2 separate regions of the Homo sapiens genome follow, and region 1 is linked to region 2. The links are contacts of gene promoters, found by promoter capture Hi-C in blood cells and fetal thymus (Javierre and others, 2016). All regions are on one chromosome and are shown on one strand. Each heading gives the region's core, a stretch centred on a gene start or on the middle of the fragment in contact. The rest is flanking DNA. Distances are from core to core; before and after follow the strand shown.

Region 1 (3,343 bases), core at 570-3,069, 1.2 Mb before region 2:
TGGTCAGATTCCAGAGCTCTGTTTGCTTTTTTCACCAACTACCCTGCTTCCTTAACGTTCATACTTTGTCTTAATGTTTCTGGTCCCACTGTTAAATGCCACCATTTGGTGGGGCAGGGACTGGTGGGTATAGCTGGAGGGTGGTATGAGGACAGGTCTGGGGCAGCATCCCTTCTTCTCTCATGGGGATTCCTAATCCATCCCAGGGGAAGAATCAGAGTTAGGGTGTGCAGGACACTCCAGCCACATGCCAAATTATTACTAGTCCAAGCATTTGGGCTGAATCTGCCCTTCCTGTCCGCTGGATTGAGCTGGCCTGAAAAATCAAGCAGGGTGATTAGTCATAATTGACTTCTCACCTGTAAACCTAGAGGCCAGAGTTAACTCAGTGAGCCTGGCGTGTTCTCACCCCTACCATCACCCTGACCCACTTTTCTCCCTCTCAGCACCACTCGGCAATCCAGGGCCTGAAGTTCCTCCTAAACAGAAGGCTTCCCAAGCCTAACAGCCCTTTCCTAAGTTTTACTTTTCCAAAGCTGCTTTGTCTGTCATATAATCTTGAAGCAGGGCCTACCTCTCCCCTATGACACTTTTTAGTCTTTTAATTTTCTCTTATTTCTGTGCCCTCCAACAGACAGAAAGTCCAGGAGGAAGAATCTGTATCTGTCTGTTTTACCTCTTCAGGGATCTTTAACATCTGACCTGGAGTCTGGTACTTAACGAATGCTCAATAAATACTTCTTGAATAAATACATAGGACAGAAAAAAAGTGAAGAATAACTTTGCTTGTTCTTGAGTTCAGGGTGAACCCCAAATGCTGACTCCACTCACTTTCTTGGTCTTTATGTCTCCCTGTGATGTCCTGCCCTTGGGTGCTCTTTGAACATCAAAGAGCATCAGCCTAGCATGCTGTGTCAGAGAGGGGATTCTGGAGTCAAAATGCCTGGGTTCAGATTCCAGCTATGCCATTCATGAGCTGTGTGATCTTGGGTGCTGAATCTGTGTTCCTCAATTTTCTCATTTGCAAAATAAGGAAAAGAGTGCCTAACTCAAATTGTGGTTTTGAAGAGTAAAAGCTTTAATGTAAGCGAAGTGCTTACAGCAGATACTGACACATAGCACAGGTTGAGCATCCTTAATCTGAAAATATAAAATCTGAAATGCTCCAAAATTGGAAACTTTTTGAGCAGTGACATATCACTCAAAAGTCATGATCAAACGGTTTTAGAATACCAGATTAGGGATGCTTAACTCTAAGTACAATGCAAATATTTCAAGCTCTGAAAAAATCTGAAACCCAAAACGCTTCTGGTCCCACGTATTTCAGATAAGGGCTACTCAGTGTATAGTGACAACACAGACATAGTGTTCATTCAAGAGCAAGTACTGAGTTAACATTTAATTATCATAACCTTTAAAAAATTAAAACAGTGAATTGTGCATTTCGTTGTAGGAAAACCCTTATGCTTTTAGATAAATTTCAACCTCTGACCCTAGCAACATGAGCTGTCCCTAGGATCCTCTTAGCTTCCTCTAGTATCCCTCTAAGTGCCAGGTGCAGAGCTGCTTTCCTCTTCCTCCAATATGGCAGAGTTTTTCAGCTTCTGGGCCTTTGTCCGTGCTGTTTCCTCCAGTGCCCTCATCCTCACCTCTAGGAACTGGTTCCTTCTCACCCCCAGGAGTCACCTCTTCCACGAGACCATCTCCGATCTAAGCAAGCTCAGTCCCAGCCCTCTATTTCAGGAGCACTTATTAGAAGGAAGAATTATCTAATTGAGCTGTTTAATTTCTCTCTCCCATCAAAAACCCAGCTCTCTAAGTGCACTGAATCCCTTACCCAGGTACTGAGTAGGTGTCAATAAAAATGTTGAATGAACATTATGGCTGGGCATTAGGTGGCAGATTCCAAGGCCTGCCTCTGGACCCCCATGTTACTCTTGCGTAGGCACCCAGCCCCCTCTCACCCCCTTGTCTGGCTGCATGGCCCTGACCTTACCCTCTCCAGCTAGTGTTCCACATGGGGCATAAGCCTGGAGCCCTGGCTGCAGATCTCAATTCCTTGCAGCCTCCTGGTTGTTTAGGGTCCTGTTACTCTCCTACTCCAAACCCTTTAAAGGCTTCCTATCCCACTTACCATAAAATGACAAGCACCCACATAATCATATATCTTTCTGCTTCTCTCTTGTTCACTGTGCTTCAACCAAAATGACCTTCTTTTGTTTCTCAAATCTGCCAAACCTGCCCCATCTCAGGGCCTTTGAACTCCCTGCTCCTTTTGGCCTGGAATGCATATCCCTCACCTCATGTCCCACAGGCTCTTCCTCTTAAGTTATCTTTCAGTTCAATGAAACCTTGCTGACCCACCGTATAACATGGTACCCAGAGATATTAATGTTAATCTATGCTATTAGCTGTTTTTTCTCTTTATAATTCTTACCACCACAGTTGACCCTGGAACAATGTGGGGATTAGGGGTACTGACCTCTCGAACAATACAAAATCTGAGTGACTTTTGATTCTCTAAACTTGACTACTAATAGCCTACTATTGACTGGAAGCTTTACTAATAACATAAATAGTTGATTAACACACATTTTGTATATGTATTATATACTGTATTTTTATATTAAGTAATCTGAAGAAGAGAAAATGTTATTAAGAAAATCATCAGGAAGAGAAAATATATTTACTATTCCTTAAGTGGGTGTGGATCATCATAAAAGCCTTTAACCTCATCGTCTTTACATTGGGAAGGCTGAGGAAGAGGAGGAAGAGCAGGTGTTGGTCTTGGGTGTCTGTCTCTTGGGTGGCAGAGGTGAAAGAAAATCTGCTTATAAGTGGACTTGTGCAGTTCAAACCCATTTTGTTTAAGGGTCAACTGTGTTTGAAATCATTCTTCTAAAAAAATCTGCCTGTCTCCATTTCTACCTGTTTCTTGTGTTAGAATGTAGACTTGTTAGAGTGGGGAACTTCACCTCTCTTCTTATCCATTGTTATATTCAAGTGCCTGATGCAGTGCGTGGCACAGAATCAGCATTTAATAATATTTGCTGAATGAATAAATGACAGAAGGAATGAGCGAATTCCCTTTTCCGTTCCTCCCTGGGACACAATGTTTCTCCCCAGAACTGTTGTTTGCTGAGTAGAGTTTGAGGTCCCCTAGATGGGGATCTAGGCCCACAGACCCAGATACTCCTGATAAAGATGCTGCCACCACATTCTTGTTCAGGGACCCTTACTGACTTTTGCTTCCCTCCCTTCCTCTCCTTTCTTGGATGGTGTCCTGATGCTTTAGTGTCTCTCCTTAGTCCTCTGAACAAGCAATTTCAAGAGGCAACCCAGT
Region 2 (3,222 bases), core at 230-2,729:
ATTTGAGTTGTAAAGTTGAAGAAAAAAATAAGTTTGGTAGTGTTCTTACCATATGGCAGAAAACAGCAGTTATTCTGATGGTCATTATTACAAGTGTGGTTGCTAAGATTATTGAAAACGTATTGTTTGTTCCCTGTTCAAAGAGCTAGAATCTTAAGGCAGCTTTCCATTCTTTTCCTTAATTTCACCCCTCAGATTCTGTCACACACTGGCAAAAACATATTGGCATTTTGGGGGAAGGGATCCACTGAGGCGACACTTTTGGTGTATCAAGTATATAAGGTATAGAAATCTTTGGAGTCTTTCTTTAGACTTCCATTTACTTTCCAGTAGATTGAGTGTTAATAATCGTCCTGTCTCCTGCTGTGGATAGCTGTGACCTGGTTCATCTATTGGCACCTTCTCTGGTTCATAGACAAAGAGCAAGAACCCAGAAAGAGCGGCTTTTCTTTTCTACTCCTATTGCTAAGAACCCTCTTGGATAAAGACAATCTTAAACAGATTATGAAATTGTTACTTGTTATAGGATCAAAGCAATGTCCCAACAAAGAGCACTGGCCTCTGTTTATTACACTTAGACTTCACTTGAGATACCTTTCCATCTCCTAGAGAAAATAGATGTTTCAATACCTTCCAGGCACTGGAATAATACAGCCAGGGCATCTCTACAACTGCATGTTTAATTATAGTGTTCCATCCAGATGAATGCTTTTCCATCAAGGTCAGACTGACTGACCAGTTGAAATGCTTGATTTTATCCTAAAGTCAGAATCGAGTAAAGCTGCTGGAAGCCTACCCAGTTTACATCCTATCTTCCCCACAAAACCTGCTCTGAGGATGCAAGTTGAAATTTTACTTATATGTGTGCACATGTGTGTATGCAATATATATGTGTATATATTTGTATATACATATATACACACATATGTATATATATACACCTATAGAGATGTATGTATATATTACAATTACAATGTATATATTACAATTAATTTGGCTTATTTGCTCCCATTCTAGCATTTTTAGGATAGAAACAATAGATGACATAAATCCCTTTTCTGCCACAATATAATATCACCTAAAGAATCATGTTTCATTAGCTAGAAGTGGGATTTGCTTTCATTATTGCAGTACATTTGATAATATAAAAATATTTCTGATGATTTTTTCTTATGTGAATTTCATAGCATCTTCATCTAAAATTTACTTTGGAGATTCAGACCAAATGTCATATCAATTTCCTAGACTGCTTAATATGTAATTCTGCTACAGATTTTAATCTCAATGTAACAAGGGGGAAAAGCAGAGAGAAATGAACTAGGTGTACTCAGGATCACTATCTGCTATTGAAATTTCCCCAAACCTAAGAGGTTTCATCTGTACATAGAAATATTTTCACCATGGAATGTATAGTGGTTGAACTTTTGAAGAAAAGTTGACTTATTGTCTAAAAGTTTTCCATTTGCCCTCTTCTAGGTTTGCACTCAAGACTGACATTTACCGTAATGGAAGCTGTTCATATGCCCCCAGGAAAGAATGAACAATTTAATAGAAAATGCTAAAGGAGTGATATTAGGTGAGCATCTCATGTCATCCGAAGAAAAACATAGGCAGATTTTCTACTCTTTACCTTATTTCCCACTTTATTTTCAGGATGTGGGGATAAAAATGTAGGGTCTGATGAATTTTTCAACAGCTTATAATTATTAGTGTTATTGTTAGAATACCAGAATATAACTAATAACCAAATGTAAAATGTTTGGTAAGGAAATTGCTTTATTAAAAATATAAATTGTGTGGGTGTTAGTAAATGTTAAAAGGAACTGACAATATAAAAGGCACAAAAATTGATGACTGTATTTCAAATGCTGAGAGGTGTATTTTTGTGTCTTTTTCTCTTTCTCCATCTTATTGAGCACCTATAAAACTAATGGCATATACTTACAAGATGGTGGGCATGTTTTGGATGCTCAGTTTATGTCTGTAGGAAAGAAAACAACACAAAGATAATTGCCTCAATTAGGTCAAATAAACGATGAGTTAGAGGCCGAATTAGGATTCACGTTATGAGTTTCTCAACAGTTACCAATAGAACCAATGACAGATATGAGAGTAACGCAATATATGCCAAGATACTTTAAAGTAATTTACTTTATATTAATATTATCTATTAAGACATCTTAGTTCAACCACACTCAGCTGCTCTACAATAACCCCAGAGCTTCTGAGTTACAATATGCCAGAAATAGGTAAGTGGCTCTGCTCACACAATATAATTCAGGCAGATCCAGTGTCCAGTCATTGTTGTTCTACCACCCAGTTGTGAGCTAGAATAACTTCCTTAATTTTTTTGACCCTCGAGGATATTGAAATAATATAATGCTTACTTCATTAGGTCATAGTGGAGATTAAAAAATGGTTATTAAGATGATATGCCCTTCATCTAGGAAAAAATCAATAAATGTTACTGATGCTATCGTCATCATCATCATCATCATCATTATCATCATCATCAAGGTCATGACAGAAAGAGGACACATTACATGAAATCTCAACTTCATCCCTGGGCCATGCACACCTGTAGCTAATTTTTGTATCTTTCTATTTGAGTTCGGGTTTCGCATCGTTTTGTCCCACACAACAGAAGCTGATCTCCAAAGAGAGGAATGATGTAGCCTCAAGTAACAAAGACATTGAGGGAAGTCTTTCACATCCTGGGATGCCTGTGGCCCAGCACAGAGGGCTGTTGGGTTGCCAACACAGAGTTTACCCCTCAGGTGTCTGTAATTGGGTAAAGAGAGGTGAAGTTTAGCATGTGATATGTAAAACGGGCAGCTACAAATACAATTCTAAAACAAGCAGAATTGGCTCCAATTCTTCCTTCTTTTTCCTCACTCTCAGATGCTCAGGAAGCTTTCCTGCTCTTGTCCCTGACAGGAATATATTATACCTTCCTGGATATGTAGGTGGATATCAAGAAAGTGCTTATTTGCAAGCAACAGGAGCCAGATACAGCTGATTTGAGCAGAAAATGATTTTTGAAAGGTTATTGATTAAGTTTCAGTAACTAGAAGCAGACTAAAGAACCAGAACTTAGGGCACGCTATCAAAATTATAGAATCATGCAAAATTAAGTGTATGTGCAGGCCTGCCTCGCTGACCCAACAGGAGCAGGATACGGGATGCTGACCCAGGCACTGCTGCCTCCTCAATTACTCCTGG

The links. The method cuts DNA at HindIII sites, captures the fragments that hold promoters and counts their contacts. A CHiCAGO score of 5 or more calls a contact.
Region 1: a fragment that was not itself captured here is called in contact with the fragment with the promoter of GRM7-AS2 in region 2 in 4 of 17 cell types (M0 macrophages, endothelial precursors, M2 macrophages and 1 more); the score reaches 8.1 in M0 macrophages.

Annotation. Positions count from the first base shown.
Region 1 is chr3:8,133,790-8,137,132 of GRCh38, reverse strand. No RefSeq gene overlaps it. Among named protein-coding and RNA genes, the nearest start is that of LMCD1-AS1, 370 kb to the left of the region's middle. The HindIII fragment of the contact is 1,482 bases long and covers 1,079-2,560 here.
Region 2 is chr3:6,892,274-6,895,495 of GRCh38, reverse strand. It overlaps GRM7-AS2 (GRM7 antisense RNA 2), which reads left to right and starts at 1,479. Exons shown (of 2, transcript NR_131906.1): 1 at 1,479-1,576; 2 at 2,448-2,859. The region is part of intron 1 of GRM7 (glutamate metabotropic receptor 7); the gene reads right to left. The HindIII fragment of the contact is 4,859 bases long and covers 1-2,915 here.